Regions from separate parts of the Homo sapiens genome. Here region 1 is linked to region 2. The links are contacts of gene promoters, found by promoter capture Hi-C in blood cells and fetal thymus (Javierre and others, 2016). All regions are on one chromosome and are shown on one strand. The core of a region is centred on a gene start or on the middle of the fragment in contact, and the rest is flanking DNA. Distances in the headings are between cores, read along the strand shown. Region 1 overlaps STAG1 (STAG1 cohesin complex component). Region 2 holds the start of IL20RB-AS1 (IL20RB antisense RNA 1).

Region 1 (7,885 bases), core at 3,111-5,610, 490 kb after region 2:
TGGAACTTAAACATTTTAACCAAAAGAATAAAATGTTCTTTTGAAATAGGTCCAGGGCTTTTATGTTCAGTGTGGATTGTCTGATTGGAGTTTTATGTCTGCTTTCTTGCATATACTGCATGTATAACATGTTATTGATATATTTGTTTTAAAAAGAACAAGGATTTGCATATACCTGCCATGCAGTCTTTGTTTTTTTTTTTTTACTGCAACTTTATGGAGGTCTAATTCACATAAATAAACTGCACATTTAAGTGCATAATTTGATGAGTTTTGACATATATACACCTATAAAACCACCACCACAAGCGAGATAATGAATCTCTCCATCATCCTTAAGAAATTCAAGTGCCAAGTTTTCTCATGGCACTTTGTAACTCCTTTCTACCTCCCTTCCTGTTGTTCTACCTTTCCATCATCCTCAAGCAAGCATTGATGTGCTGATTATTTACATTTTCTAGAATTTTATAGAAATGGAATTATGCAACATATCTGGGTTTTTTTTTTGTGGGCGGATCTGGCTTCTTTCTCTGAACAAAGTCAGAGTTTTTTTTATCATTGAATGCGTTGCTAGCCGTAATGTGTATATATATGTGTGTGTGTGTGTGTGTGTGTATGTGTGTGTGGTGTGTGTGTGTGTGTGTGTGTGTATGTATATGTATGTGTATATATATATATATATATATATAATTTTTTTTTTTTTTTTTAAGATGGAGTTTTGCTCTTGTTGCCCAGGCTGGAGTGCACTGGCACAATGTCGGCTCACTGCAACCTCCGCCTCCCGGGTTCAAGTGATTGTCCTGCCTCAGCCTTCCAAGTAGCTGGGATTACAGGCATGCTCTGCCACGCCCAGCTAATTTTGTATTTTTAGTAGAGACGGAGTTTCTCCCTGTTGGTCAGGCTGGTCTCGAACTCCTGACCTCAGGTGATCTGCCTGCCTTGGCCTCCCAAAGTGCTGGGATTATAGTCGTGAGCCACCAGGCCCGGCCTAGCTGTAATATTTTCATAGATGCCCCTTATCAGATTGAGGAATTTTTTTTTTTTTTGAGATGAGTCTCGCTCTGTTGCCCAGGCTAGAGTGCAGTGGCGCGATCTCGGCTCACTGCAAGCTCCACCTCCCGGGTTCACGCCATTCTCCTGCCTCAGCCTCCCAAGTAGCTGGGAGTACAGGCGCCTGCCACCACGCCCAGCTAATTTTTTGTATTTATTTTATTTTTTTTTTAACTAGAGACAGGGTTTCACCGTGTTAGCCAGGGTGGTCTCGATCTCCTGACCTGGTGATCCGCCCGCCTCGGCCTCCCAAAGTGCTGGGGTTACAGGCATGAGCCATCGCGCCCAGCCGGAAGTTTCTTTTTATTCCTAGTTTTCTGAGAGTTTTTATTAGGAATATATCTTGGATTTTGTCAAATCTTTTTCTGCATCTATTGAGATCAGTGTGTTGTTTTATTTTTTAAAGACTTAATGTGGTGAATTTATGTTCAGATGTTAACATGAACGCATAAAGCCCACATTATCATGATATGTTTTTATCTATATATGGTTGTATGTGATTTGCTGAGTTTTTCCAAGAATTTCTGCATCTATGTTCAAGAGGGATAAATAGCTCTAACTTTATTTTAATGAATATCACTGTCTACCTTTGTTAGCAAGGTAATGCTGGCCTTGTAGATTGAGTTACAGTGTATTCTCTCTTCTTTAATTTTCTCGGTGAGTTTGATAGAACTGGTATTATTTCTTCTTCAGATAAGAGTTCTACCATTGGAGCCTAGAATTTTCTTTGCAGGAAGGTTTTTAAGTATGAATTTTCTCCAGTAGATATAGGGCTGTTGAGGTTATCTGTTGTTCCTGAGTAAACTTTGGTAGTTTATGTCTTATAAGAAATTGGTACATTCATCTTGGTGGTTGAGTTGTATTAAAAAACTATCAGCATAAAGTTGGTCATAATATTGGTAATTTAACATCTCTCTCTCTCTCCCTCTCTCTCTCCCACTCCTTTTCCCCCTGCTTCCTTCCCGCTTTTCTCTTTTCATTGTTCAGTGTATGTGGAGCTATTTTATCTTATTTTATATTGAATTTTTCTATTATTTTTGTTTTCTATTTCATTGATTTCTGTCCTTTATTTCCTTTCATCTGCTCACTTTGGGTTTCACTTCTTCAGCTCTTCTTAGTTTCTCAAGGTAGAATTTGAGGTCATTGATTTGACACTTTTTTTCTAATAAGGGAATTTACTCCTATAAATTTTTTAAAGCACTGCTTTAGCTATGTGTCCTAAATTTGGATATATTGCATTTTTTATTTAGTTCAAAATACTGTCTAGTTTCCTTTTTGATTTTTTTGTTTCACCCATGGATTATTTTGAAGCATGGCATTTAGTGTGCAGATATTTGAGGATTTTCTAGATACCTTTCTGTTATTGATTTCTAATTTAATTTCAATGTAGTCAAAGAACATAGTTTGTATGATTTGAATGCTTCTAAATTTATTGAGATTTGTATGAGACCCACAGTAAACTCTATCTTGGTGAATAGATACCTATAGATACCTATAGATCTCTATACCTCAAGAAAATAAGGTATATTCTGCTTTTGTTGGCTAGCGTCTTATACCAGTTAGGTCAAATTGGTTAATAGTGTTGTTCAAGTCTTCTCTCTCTTTACTGATTTTCGGTCTGTTTATTCTAACAATTATTAAGAAGGGTTTATAGGAGTACTTTCTGTGTTTTTTGGGGGTTTTTTTGTTTGTTTGTTTGTTTTTTGAGACGGAGTCTCCCTCTTGTTGCCCAGGCTGGAGTGCAGTGGTACAATCTCAGCTCACTGCAACCTCTGCCTCCCAGATCCAAGTGGTTCTCCTGCCTCAGCCTCCCAAGTAGCTGGGATTACAGGCATGCACCACCACGCCCAGCTAATTTTTTTTTTTTTTTTTTTTTTTTGAGACGGAGTCTTGCTCTGTCACCCAGGCTGGAGTGCAGTGGTGCACGGTCTCTGCTCTCTGCAAGCTCCGCCTCCCAGGTTCACGCCATTCTCCTGCCTCAGCCTCCCGAGTAGCTGGGACTACAGGCGCCTGCCACCATGCCTGGCTAATTTTTTTGTATTTTTAGTAGAGATGGGGTTTCACCGTGTTATCCAGGATGGTCTTGATCTCTTGACCTCACGAGCCACCTGCCTCAGCCTCCCAACATGCTGGAATTATAGGTATGAGCCACCGTGCCCGGCCCTAATTTTGTATTTTTAATAGAGGCGGAGTTTCACCATGTTGGTCAGGCTGGTCTCGAACTCTTGACCTCAAGTGATCCACCCACCTTGGCCTCCCAAAGTGCTGGGATTACAGACATGAGCCACCGTGCCATCCATGCCACCACACCTGGCTGATATTCTTGATATAAGTTCGTGAACAGATGTATAGCTTTTTTTCATTTTCTTGATGGTGACCTTTACAGAGCAAATGTTTTCAATTTGTATGGCCCAGTTTATGAGTTTTTCTTCTGTGGTCATGCTTTTGGTATCTGTGAACATTGCCTAACCCCTAAGATTTCTTCTGTGTTTTATTTTCGAAGTTTAATCATTTTGTCTCTTCTATTAAGGCATATGAACCTTTAAAATTGAATTTTTAATTCAATTTTTGTAGATGACGTGATATAAGGGCAGAAGTCTACTTTTTGCATACAAATTTTCAGTTTTCCCAGCACCATTTAATGACAAAGTATCTTTCCCCAATTGAATTACCATGCCATCTCTCTTGAAGATGAATTGACCATAAACACAAGGTTTTATTTTTGGATTTTCTGTCTATCCTTACACTGATACCACCTGCATTGAGTATGCTTTAGATGAGCTTTTAAAATTAGGTAGTGTAAGTTGTCTTACTTTATTCTTCGTTTTCAAAAATTTTTTGACTGGTACAGATTCTTTGCATTTCTGTATAAATCTTAGGGTCAGCTTGTCAATTTTTGAACAAAAGCTTCTGAAATTATCATAGGGATTGTAATTACCTTGTGAACCAATTTGGAGAGAATTAACCTCTTAACAATATAGAATTTATTCCTTATCTTAATGGGGAAACAATTAGACTTTGAAATTAGGCACGATGTTATTAACTAAGTTTTGTGTAGATACCCTTTAGTAGGATGAGGAATTTACTTCTAGCCTGATTTGTTGGGTGTTTTTATCATGATGGATTGATGTATTTCTTTATTTTTTCTGTTTTGAATGAGGTGGTCATGCAGGTTTTTTCTTTTATTATATTAATATAGTGTATTGTGTTCATTGATTTTCAGATATTATACCAACCTTGCATTCTGGGAGAAATTCCACATGGTTATGGTATACAATCCTTTTTATATGCTACTGGATTCAGTTTGCTAGTATTTTGTTAAGGATTTGTGCATTTACTTTCATAAGGAATAACAGTGTCAATACTAGCCTTATAGAATACACTGGGAACTATTCTTCCTGCTCTGTTTTCTGAAAGAATTTATGAAGGATTGGTAATATTTCTATGTTTGGTAGATTTCAGCAGAGAAGCCCTTTAATACCAGGCTTTTCTTTGTGTAAAGGTTTTTAATTACTGATTCAATTTATATATCCTGAATTTTTTTAAGTTTTGTTTTGTTTTTTATTAATTTATTTTCTTGAGACAGGGTCTCTGTCTGTCACCCTGCCTGGAGTGCAGTGGCACAATCACAACTCCGTAGAACCTCAATGTCCTGGGCTCAAGCAGTCCTCCTGCCTCAGCTCCCAAGTAGCTAGGACTGCAGGCAAGCTTCACGACACCTGGCCAATTTTTTATTTTTTCTAGAAACTAGGGCTTCTCCCTGTTTTGCCCAGAATGGTTAGAACTCTTGACCTCAAGCAGTCCTTCTGCTTCGGCCTCCCAAAGTACTAGGATTATAGGTGTGAGCCACTGCGCCCTGCACACCGCCAGATTTTTTGTTGTTTTTGAGTCAGATTTGGTAATTTGTATTTCTCAGGCAATATGTCTATTTCATGCAAATTGTAAATTTAATGGCATAATGTTATTCATAATATTTTGTAGTTGTTTTAATTTTTGGGGGGTTGTCAGCCCCCTTATTTATTCTTGTGTGATTTGTGTCTTCTCTTTTGTCTTTCTCAGTTTCACTGTAAGTTTGTTTTGTTGATCTTTTCAAATAATAATGGACTTGTAATTTTGTTGGCTTTCTCTGTTTTTTATTTCCTTGATTTATGTTTCCATATTTATTATTTGTGTTGTTTTTTTTTTTTTTTTTTCGGAGACAGGATCTCGCTCTGTTGTCCAAGCTGGAGTGCAGTGTCATGATCATTGCTCACTGCAGCCTTGACTTCACGGGCTCAAGCAGTACTCCCGCCTCAGCCCCCTGAGTAGTTGGGACTACAAGCACACATCACTATGCCTGGCTAATTTTTGTTATTTTTGTAGAGTCAGGGTTTGGCCATGTTGTCCAGGCTCGTGTTGAACTCCTGGACTCAAGTGATCCACCTGCCTTAGCCTCCCAAAGTGATGGGATTACAGGTGTGAGCCATCCTTTGCTGATCTTTTTGTTTTGGTTTGGTTTGGTTTTTTTGAGACAGGGTTTTACTCTGTCACCCAGGTGGGAGTGCAGTTGCACAATCACAGCTCACTTCAGCCTCAACATCCTGGGCTCAGGTGATCTTCCCACCTCAGCCTCCTGAGTAGCTGGGACTACAGGCACACACTACCATACCTGGTTAATTTTTTGTATTTTCAGTAGAGACGAAGTTTCGCCATGTTGCCCAGGCTGGTCTCAAATTCCTGGGCTCAAGCCATTTACCACCCTCAGCCTCCCAAAGTGCTGTGATTAGGTGTGAACTATCATGCCTGGCCTAATTGTTTCTTAAGTTGAAAACTAAAATTATTCATTTTATATCCTTCCTCCTTTCTCAACTCCCCTTATAAGCTCTAAATTTTCCACAAAGCACTGCTCTAGCCCAGCTTCATTTTCTTGTCCTTCCTTTGTGCTATTATTGTCATATATATTTTGTCTACATTAGTTACTAACCCACCTGTACAGCATTATTTTCAGAGTGTTCAGTCATCTCTTAACAAAATTAAGAGGAGAAAATACAAATACACTTACTGTCTTCTAATTTACTTTCTTGTTAACATTTTTGACATTCTTCATTTTTTCCCGTGGAATTTAGTTATTGTATCGTGTTATTCCCTTGCAGTTTGAAGGACTTCATTTTGTGTCCCTTGTAAGGTAAATTTTACCCTGCTTAAACTGTTAAATGGCATGTAAATATCTGGGGGCAGTCTTAGGGCTCATCTTGTGTTATCCCCTCTCAGAGATTACCATTCTGCTCTGACTGATAATCCAACATCTAAAAATCATTTTGTGCAATTTGGTTTTTGTTTTCATTTACTTTTTTCAAGTGAGAGCATAAATTCTGTCCATCTTGGCTCCGTCATGCAGTCTTGAATTCAGAATCCATATTTTTATGATTTTCTGTCAGTCTGTAACACCAGTATTTATTTTAATGACTCACCTTTCTTGAGTCTTGACAAAGCTTTCAACCTATTATCCTTGTAGAAACAACAGTTATTTAATTTCTTACTGTTACAATGTTGATTTACATTTTATTTAATCAGACCTTGCATAAACTAGTATTGGATCTGTCATAGCCTGACTGAACTATTCAAAACTAGAATACAAGTGTAGTTGAGAATGTGACCTACTTGGCAAAAGTGATCAGCATGCCATGGATACTAATCATTAATTTCCATAAGTATCACTCAGTCTACATTATTGATTAATAGGAGATATTACTGCACGTACTGGAAGTAGTAGGTACTATGCAGAGATATCACTTTTTAAGTTACCACTTTGTGTCCCACTTACCACCATCCACTTCAAACAAATTTGATTTTTTTGTTTTTTTGTTTTGTTTTGTTTTTGAGACAATCTTGCTCTGTCTCCCAGGCTGGAGTGCAGCAGCGTGATCTTGGGCTGATTCCAGCCCCCGCCTCCTGGGTTCAGGTGATTCTCCTGCCTCAGCCTCCTGAGTAGCTGGGAATACAGGTGTGCACCACCATCCTCAGCTAATTTTGTATTTTTAATAGAGACAGGGTTTCACCATGTTGGCCTGGCTGGTCTTGAACTCCTGACCTCAGGTGATCTTCCTGCCTCGGGCTCCCAACGTGCTGGGATTACAAGTGTGAGCCACTGCACCCGGCCAACAAATTGGATTTTAATCTGTATGCTGCTAGATCTAAGTAATCATTTACAGTAAGTATGGAGACCAGAAGAATGTGTTTTCTAACTGAATCCTTGTGGTATTGCTTAAGTCTAGAATTTGGGAAACTGTACTTCAGACCAAATGATCAGTTTCTTCCACAAATAAATGGCAAATAATAAGAACCAGGGGATGTAAAAACACAAAATACTGAATGTGAAAAACACTCACAAATTCATATTTAATGAACAGGATATACTTTAGAATGTTGAGGAGACAATTAGTGAATTGGAATGTAATACTGAGGAGTTTACCCAGATCACAGTAATAAAGGGATAAAAAGATATGGACGGACCTTTCTGATATGGGAAGGGTAGTGTCAGATACTTCACCAGTCCTTTAAAAAGAAGTTTCAGGAAAAGAGAGAAGCCCTTGGTCATGGTAGTGTGCACCTGTAGTCCCAGCTACACAGGAGGATGAGATGGTAAGACTGCTTGAGCCCAGGAGTTCCAGGGTGCAGTGAACTATGATCAAGCCACTGCACTCCAGCCTGAACGACAGAGCAAGACCCCGTGTCTAAAAAAATAGATACATAGAAAGAAATGTATTAGAGAGAAGTAGTAGTAGTGAGTACAATTTTATAAAATTAGTTAAACAGAAACTTCAGATTAAAAAAACTTAATGAGTGCTGAGTAGGT
Region 2 (7,007 bases), core at 1,974-4,473:
GTGAGCTAAGATCATGCCATTACACTCCAGCCTGGGCAACAAGAGCGGAACTCCATCTCAAAAAAAAAAAAAAAAAGAGAGAGAGAGAGACAGTAGGGATCCTTTTCAGGAGAGCCTTAAATCAAGATTTTTCACATTCCTGGGGAGAAGTCTGAGTGGCCTTTTTCAAATGGAAGAGGACAAACTTAATGCCCTTAAGAGATCATGACACCATCCCAGCCTATTTGCTTGGATATCATAGAACCGTATCTTCCATCTTCTGATGCAAGTACAGACTCCTGTTCCTCAGCTGCCCCTGCAGCAAGCTCTTTTCCTGTTTATACAGGCCTTCGTAAGTACAAGGTTTTACAGCACATCCCCACCCACATAGTTTTGTAGGCACTCCCTTATCTTTATGTGACCCATGCCTGCTTTCCAGCAACAGCTGCCAGCCCCCAGCAATGGTCTTGGCTGGATCCCCATGCTCTTAGGAGCCAGAGGGAGGTGGTGCTGAATGCTGCCTGGGCACTGCAGGTAGTGGCAGTTTTGCAGTGCCCTACAGGGCCCCTTAATCTCCCCCAGATCCTGCCACTTCGACCAACTCCTCTTGGACCAAATTCAGCCAGATGATCATCCTCTCCATTCCATGAAGTCATTCCATTCCATTCCATTCCAGTCCTGGTGCCTGGGAAGGAGGCCTGGGCAAAGGAGCCCACAATCTGCACCAAAATTCCTTTTGGTATCCCATTCCAATGGTCCTATTCCTGCCCCATCCCTTCCCTCCTCTGCTCTTCAGCTTGGGCTCCTCTTCTTCTAAACCTTCCTAATTTCCACCTAATATCATACATTCCTCAGTAAATTTTGACTCATCCGAATGCTGCAAATTCTGCCCCAAACCTTCTTCCACCATCTTTCACAACAGAAGCTCTTCTGCCACATCACGAAAACAGAGACCAAAGAAGACCCTTATCTTGCCTTTCCTGCAGCTCTAAACTGGTTACATTCCCACCCATTCCTTGCTCCTTCCTACCTCCATGCAATCCTCCACTCCAGCAGCCAGATGGTCATCCTTTCCACTCCATGAAGTTACTTTCTCAAGGGCCCATCCAGGGGCTTCCTCCAGCCTCTCAGGAGCTGTTCTATTCTCCTTTCCATTATCCTCTACCCTGGTGCCCTTCCCTCCATCCACATTTTAAAGTCTGAGGTTTTCCAGGACCTTGTCCTCTCTTTATCTTCAGCGTCTTGTCCCTAAACAGTCTCGTCTACTTCCAAGCCTTTAGCTGTTAACTTTGTGATGGCCCTGTGCGATGGCTCATTCCTATAATCCCAGCACTTCGTGAGGCTGAGGCAAGAGGATCACTTAAGCTCAGGAGTCCGAGACCAGCCTGGGCAACATGGTGAAACCCCATCTCTACCAAAAATACAAAAAAATTAGTCAGGCATGGTGGCATGTGCCTGTATTCCCAGCTTCTTGGGGGCCTGAGGCAGGAGGATCGCTTGAGCCCAGGAGGGCAAGGCTGCAGTGAGCTGTGTTGGCACCACTGCACTCCAGCCTGGGCAAAAGAGCAAGACTCCACCTCAAAAACAAAACAAACAAACAAACAAAACCACTTTGTGTTATGTATCTGCCTTTGAGCTTTCTAAGCCTCAGGGACTGATTTCCAGCTGCCAGTCAGACATCCACAAGATGACATCTTGTAGAAATCTCAGTCTCAAAGCCGGGGGTGTCTCCTATTCTTCAAGACCAGTTGTTTCCCCCTGGGTTATTTGCCTTAGCTGGTGTTCTCACCAATTCCATTTGACAGCTGAATACTATCATTATCTCTCCCTTTTCTGTCCCCACAAACTTGATTCCTAAGCTCTGTCCTTTCTAAATCAGCCATGTTTCTTGGATTCATCATCTCCTTCCCATCCCCTTCCAAACTCTTGGGATCAGTAGGAGTATTACAACCCCCTCCTCACTCTTCCCCTGTCCTGCAGGCTTGCCCTACTCTGGTTCACTTTCCACACAGCAGCCAGAGTGTTGCTTTGTAAGATAGACCTGGTCGGCCGGGCGCCATGGCTCATGCCTGTAATCCCAGCACTTTGGGAGGCCGAAGTGGGCAGATGACTTGAGGTCAGGAGTTCCAGACCAGCCTGGAAAACATAGTGAAACCCTGTCTCTACTAAAAATACAAAAATTAGCCAGGCATGGTGGTGCACGCCTGTAGTCCCAGCTACTCAGGAGGCTGAGGCAGGAGAATCACTTGAACCCAGGAGACAGAGGTTGCAGTGAGCTGAGATCACGCCACTGCACACCAACCTGGGTGACAGAGTGAGACTCCGTATCAAAAAAAAAAAGAGATAGACCTGGTCTAGATCCTCTCCTCTTTCATTGGCTACCCTCTACTGACTTGGTCAAGCTTCGTGTCAAAGCCCTTCACCACATGATCAACTGCTTCCCTACCCCCTGCCCATCAGCCCTTGCCTCTCCTGTTCCGCAAACACACATGTCCTTTTATACAATGACCAGTGCTTGTACTCAGCCACATTTGGCCACCTATCTGGATTCCTCTATTACTTCTTTCTCAATCCTTTTCCAGGTACTACTCCAAAAGAAAAGTTATTTATTTCCCACAGAAGTCATTACAGAAGGGCAATTTTCTGGTGGCTCTGTTAAGTGTATAAATCCTCTTGCACAACAAAGCTGCTTACGTGGGCAGTAAATATGCAGTTAATGAGGCCTCAAGTGGGAGGCACAATTTATGGAGGCACAATCAGAGTAGGGAGCAGCAGTCCTGGTGCCACCTCTTCACTTCCAGAGCAGCTTTCCTTCCAGGTTCCCAATGTCAGCATCCCCAACACCTGCACACCCTGACACAGACAGTCAGGAATGACTTGAGTAGTCAAAGGGCATGACAGAGAGCAGCATGTAGAAAGCAGTTGGCAATTTTTCAAATATACCAGTAAGGGTTGTTTGTGTTCACAATACTCTGGCTTTGCAGGACTATTCTGATGCTAAAAAGAGTCTAGAAAGTTTAGGTGAACATGGTTCCTAAAGGAGGGGCTGGTTGGGGTGGGAGTGTAAGGAGAGAAGTGCCTTACTTGAGTTTCTATTAAAGGGATGCTTCAGGATGCTCCAGGCTGAGGTCTGTGAGCCCAATGTGGCCCTGACACGAAGGTTGTATGGCACAGTGGCCGTGATGTCATCAGTGACATCACACTCAGGACCTTCAGTGAGTGAGCACCAGCTGCTGGGGATCCAGATGTGGCTCGTGTACAGGCTCTCGTACTCCCTGTCAAAGAGAGGAGGGCACAGAGTTACACCAGCCCCTCTGACACAGGCTCAGTTATGGTTGCAAGTAACTGACTTCGTTCACCTACTTTGTACAGGTAAGTAAAATAAGTACTTTCTCATTATCCTAGCTCCTCCACTCTCCTCCCTACCAACCATCCATCGTCCCTTACTCCTTTTATTGCCAGATAGGGAAAGCTAGGCATAAACATCAATGTGTCTGGATCTCTTTTATCTCTTCATCTCCAGGGTCATCACCCTAATCTCAGCCACTGTCATTCCTTGCCTTGCTGTGATCTCCCAGCTTGGACACCTGCCATTCTCAAAACCATTCACCACTCAGCAGATTGTGACGTTTCTCTCCTTAATGGCTTCCTACAGGACTTAGAATGGGATCCAAACTCTTGCCAGTGGTCTTACAAGATGCTTTGGCCTTCTCTCTCACTCTGCTCCGAAGCGTGATATTCTTGCCACATTGGTCATTTCTCCAAAATGCTGAGCACTTTTTGCCTTAGGACCTTTGACTAACTGTTCACTCCATCTCAAACGCTCTGCCCCTGCTGTTCGCATGGCTGGCTCCTCTTGTCCTTCAGATATGGCATAAATATCACCTCCTCAGAGAGGCCATCCCAGGCCATCTAATATAAAGGAGCCTCAGTGTCAACTCTCTATGGCATCAGCCTTTTAGCTTCCTCCTAGCACTGATTACTATCCAAAATTCCCTAGAGCAGTGCTTTCCAAAAATAAACTTTCTGTGATGATGCAAATATTCTAAATCGATGTTGTTCAATATGGTAACCACTGGCCACATGTGGCTATTGAACACCTAAAATGTGACTAGTGTGGCAGGAAACAGACATTTTAATTTAATTTAATTTAATTTAATTTAATTTAAATTTAAATAGCCAGCTGTGGCTGGTGGCTACCATACTAGAGAATGCTGGCCTAGTATATTTATCATCTGTATCCTCCTCTAGATGTAAGCTCTCAAAATCCAGAAACCTTGTCAACTGTATCCCTGAGCCTAGAAGAATGTCTACACATGTAGGTGTTCAGTCTGTATTCATTGTTAATGAAATATATGGAGCAATTTCTGTGTCCTTATCACTATTCAATAGCTGCAAGCACCTGAACACCTGGAGAAGACTAGAGCCTGCTCAGCCCCAGGGCCAGCTGACCTTTAGGATTATAGTTCGTTTTGGCTCTAGGTATAAGCTTATAGTCAGGAAAAGTGAGGACTCCTCCACCCTTAAAGGATCTGAGTCTCCAGTGATTTATCCATCTCAAGTCAGAGTCAAACCCATTGGACAGTTGATTCACTTTTTAAAATAACTCCACCAAAATGTGTTATGCACATTCATCTTCCCAGAGAGTTCACTGTCAAATCCACAGAACAATTTCCCTTGCTTCTTCAACTCTTTCAATGCCTATGCAGACAGAGGGGGTAGATCTTTGGGGATAATCTATCCCTGGACTCAAAAAGCCACCTTGGGCTCAGGAGGAAGGGCTATGCCTTCAGGAACCAACTTCTGCTTAAGGGAGAAGAACTATTAAAAGAAAAAACTCACCCCTGGTATTCGACAGAATAGTACACTGTTTCTCCAGGCGCGATCACTGGGCTCCACATCAAGAGATGCTTCATGTTGGTTGAGAGTACAGAGAGGTTCTGAGGGGCAGGCAGAATGGCCACTTCATCTAGGATCAAGGCAGATAGCCTGGCTGACAGGTGGGCTCATAGTGGGGGAATGCCATAGCTTCAAATTAGTGTCTAATGAAGGGCCTCACTGGCGGAGGTTGCAGTAAGCTGAGATTGCACCACTGCACTCCAGCCTAGACAACAGAATGAGACTCTGTCTCAAAAAAAAAAAAGCCTCACATGTTTATAAACCAGAAACAACTCTAATTTTATCATGCTTATGTTAACACTAAATTTTGGGTACCACCATTATAATTCTGACTTTGTTGATAAATGACATATCAATATTAATAATAATAATGACTAATATTTATCTAATACTTACCATGTTCTATCTAGACCATGTGCTGGATTGTTACATGACTGTCTTATTGAATTCTCATGACCATACTGGGAGGTAAAGACCATTAGTTTTTCCATTGTACAAATGAGAAAACTGAGTCACATTATTTATGACTCTTCTGTTAGACTGGCTAGGATCCAGTGACTCTGCCACTTACTATGTGGCTTTAAGCAAGTTGCATAAACGTGAGCCTCTTAATCATTCATGGAAAACCAATGCAGACTACTGCAACATTCTCATCACCTCCCTCTCCTGCTACTGCCATCCTCAGATGCCAAAGCAATCGTTTCATGTCCCTCAACAAGGCCAAATGGGTCATCAGTTGCCAGGTGGGAAGTACAGGCTCAGATCTGCTGTGGAGAGAGTCCATTCAAGTGGGACACCAAGCCAGCTCTGTGAGTCCACCCCGGAAAGACTGCAGGCCCCTGAGCCAGTCTGGGACACAAGTATGCCCCGAGTGTACCCAGACACAGTGTGCCCAGAGTATGCACACAGTGGGACTATGATTTGTAGAGAATGAAAGAGGCCTATGAAGCTGAACCTGCTCATAAGGACTTTGGGCAGTCACAAAGCCAAAAACTTCATCCTCACATGTCACCCAAAGGTACAGTCTGAACTCTCTGCTATGTTCCTGTTTAAATGCCCAACACCTGCCTCCCTTTGCTGTTACAGTGCAGTGATAGCATCTACAGCATAGTGGGGGTGGGGCTGGAGTCCTCATTTGGGACTTTTCATCTCTGTGCCTATCTCCAGATTGGCACCTGCTGTTTGTTATCAAGCCCTGTGACCACAAAGGGATGGAAGGCTGCTGGGGACACCCCACCTGGTTTCCCTGCCCTTTCTCTAATGTAGGGCCCTAGTGATGCACCTCCATCTCACCCTCAGCATCCATGGTCTGTTCTGTGGGGAAACACCTGGAGCACCCACAAGGCAGTCTTCCTGACCCCCACCCACCCCTAAGCTTGAAATCACCCAAGGGATGGAAAGGAAAAGGGGTAGAGTGGTACAGGAGGACAAGGAATGGTCCCCTCTGACACCTTCCTCTGGTAAAGTTTTAAAAAAATTCTCTAGCCAGCTATTTGGGGAATATAAACCTATATAAATACAAAGCTACATTTTATATAACTAATTTAATTACATAATTAAATTATGTCAACAAATCAATTTATTAATTAATGTAATTTAATTATATAACTTTAAAGCTCTCAAAAATGAAATCTCCAGGCACAGATGGTTTTAATGGAAAATTCTACCAAACATTTAAAGATGACAACATCAACAAAATGCAATTTCCTCTAAAACATAGAATAGGAAAGAACAGTTTCCAGCTTACTTTATGAGGCCAGTATTACCATGATACCAAAATCAGATGAGGAAAATATATACATAAACTACATAAAAATATATCTCATGAACTTAGACAAAAATCTTCAACAAAATATAGCAATCCAAATTCAGTAATGTACAAAAAGAACTATATACCATAACCAAGTGGGATTTGTTCTAGGTATGCAGGGCTGGTTCAACATTTGAAAATCAGTTAATGTAATTTACCATGTCGATAAACTAAAGAATAAAATCATAAATCATATCAATTGACACAGAAAAAGGATTTACAAAACCCACATCCATTCATTATGAAAAACAAGACAAAACAGGCCAGGTGCGGTGGCTCACACCATAATCCCAGCACTTTGGGAGGCCGAGGCAGGCGG

The links. The method cuts DNA at HindIII sites, captures the fragments that hold promoters and counts their contacts. A CHiCAGO score of 5 or more calls a contact.
Region 1: a fragment that was not itself captured here is called in contact with the fragment with the promoter of IL20RB-AS1 in region 2 in 5 of 17 cell types (total CD8 T cells, naive CD8 T cells, activated CD4 T cells and 2 more); the score reaches 6.8 in total CD8 T cells.

What each region holds. Positions count from the first base shown.
Region 1 is chr3:136,491,015-136,498,899 of GRCh38, reverse strand. The region is part of intron 9 of STAG1 (STAG1 cohesin complex component); the gene reads left to right. Among named protein-coding and RNA genes, the nearest start is that of PCCB, 240 kb to the right of the region's middle. The HindIII fragment of the contact is 801 bases long and covers 3,960-4,760 here.
Region 2 is chr3:136,978,407-136,985,413 of GRCh38, reverse strand. It overlaps IL20RB-AS1 (IL20RB antisense RNA 1), which reads left to right and starts at 3,223. Exons shown (of 4, transcript NR_183729.1): 1 at 3,223-3,351; 2 at 5,564-5,896. IL20RB (interleukin 20 receptor subunit beta) reads right to left here. Exons shown (of 7, transcript NM_144717.4): 2 at 4,822-4,948; 3 at 3,064-3,254. The HindIII fragment of the contact is 2,087 bases long and covers 2,384-4,470 here.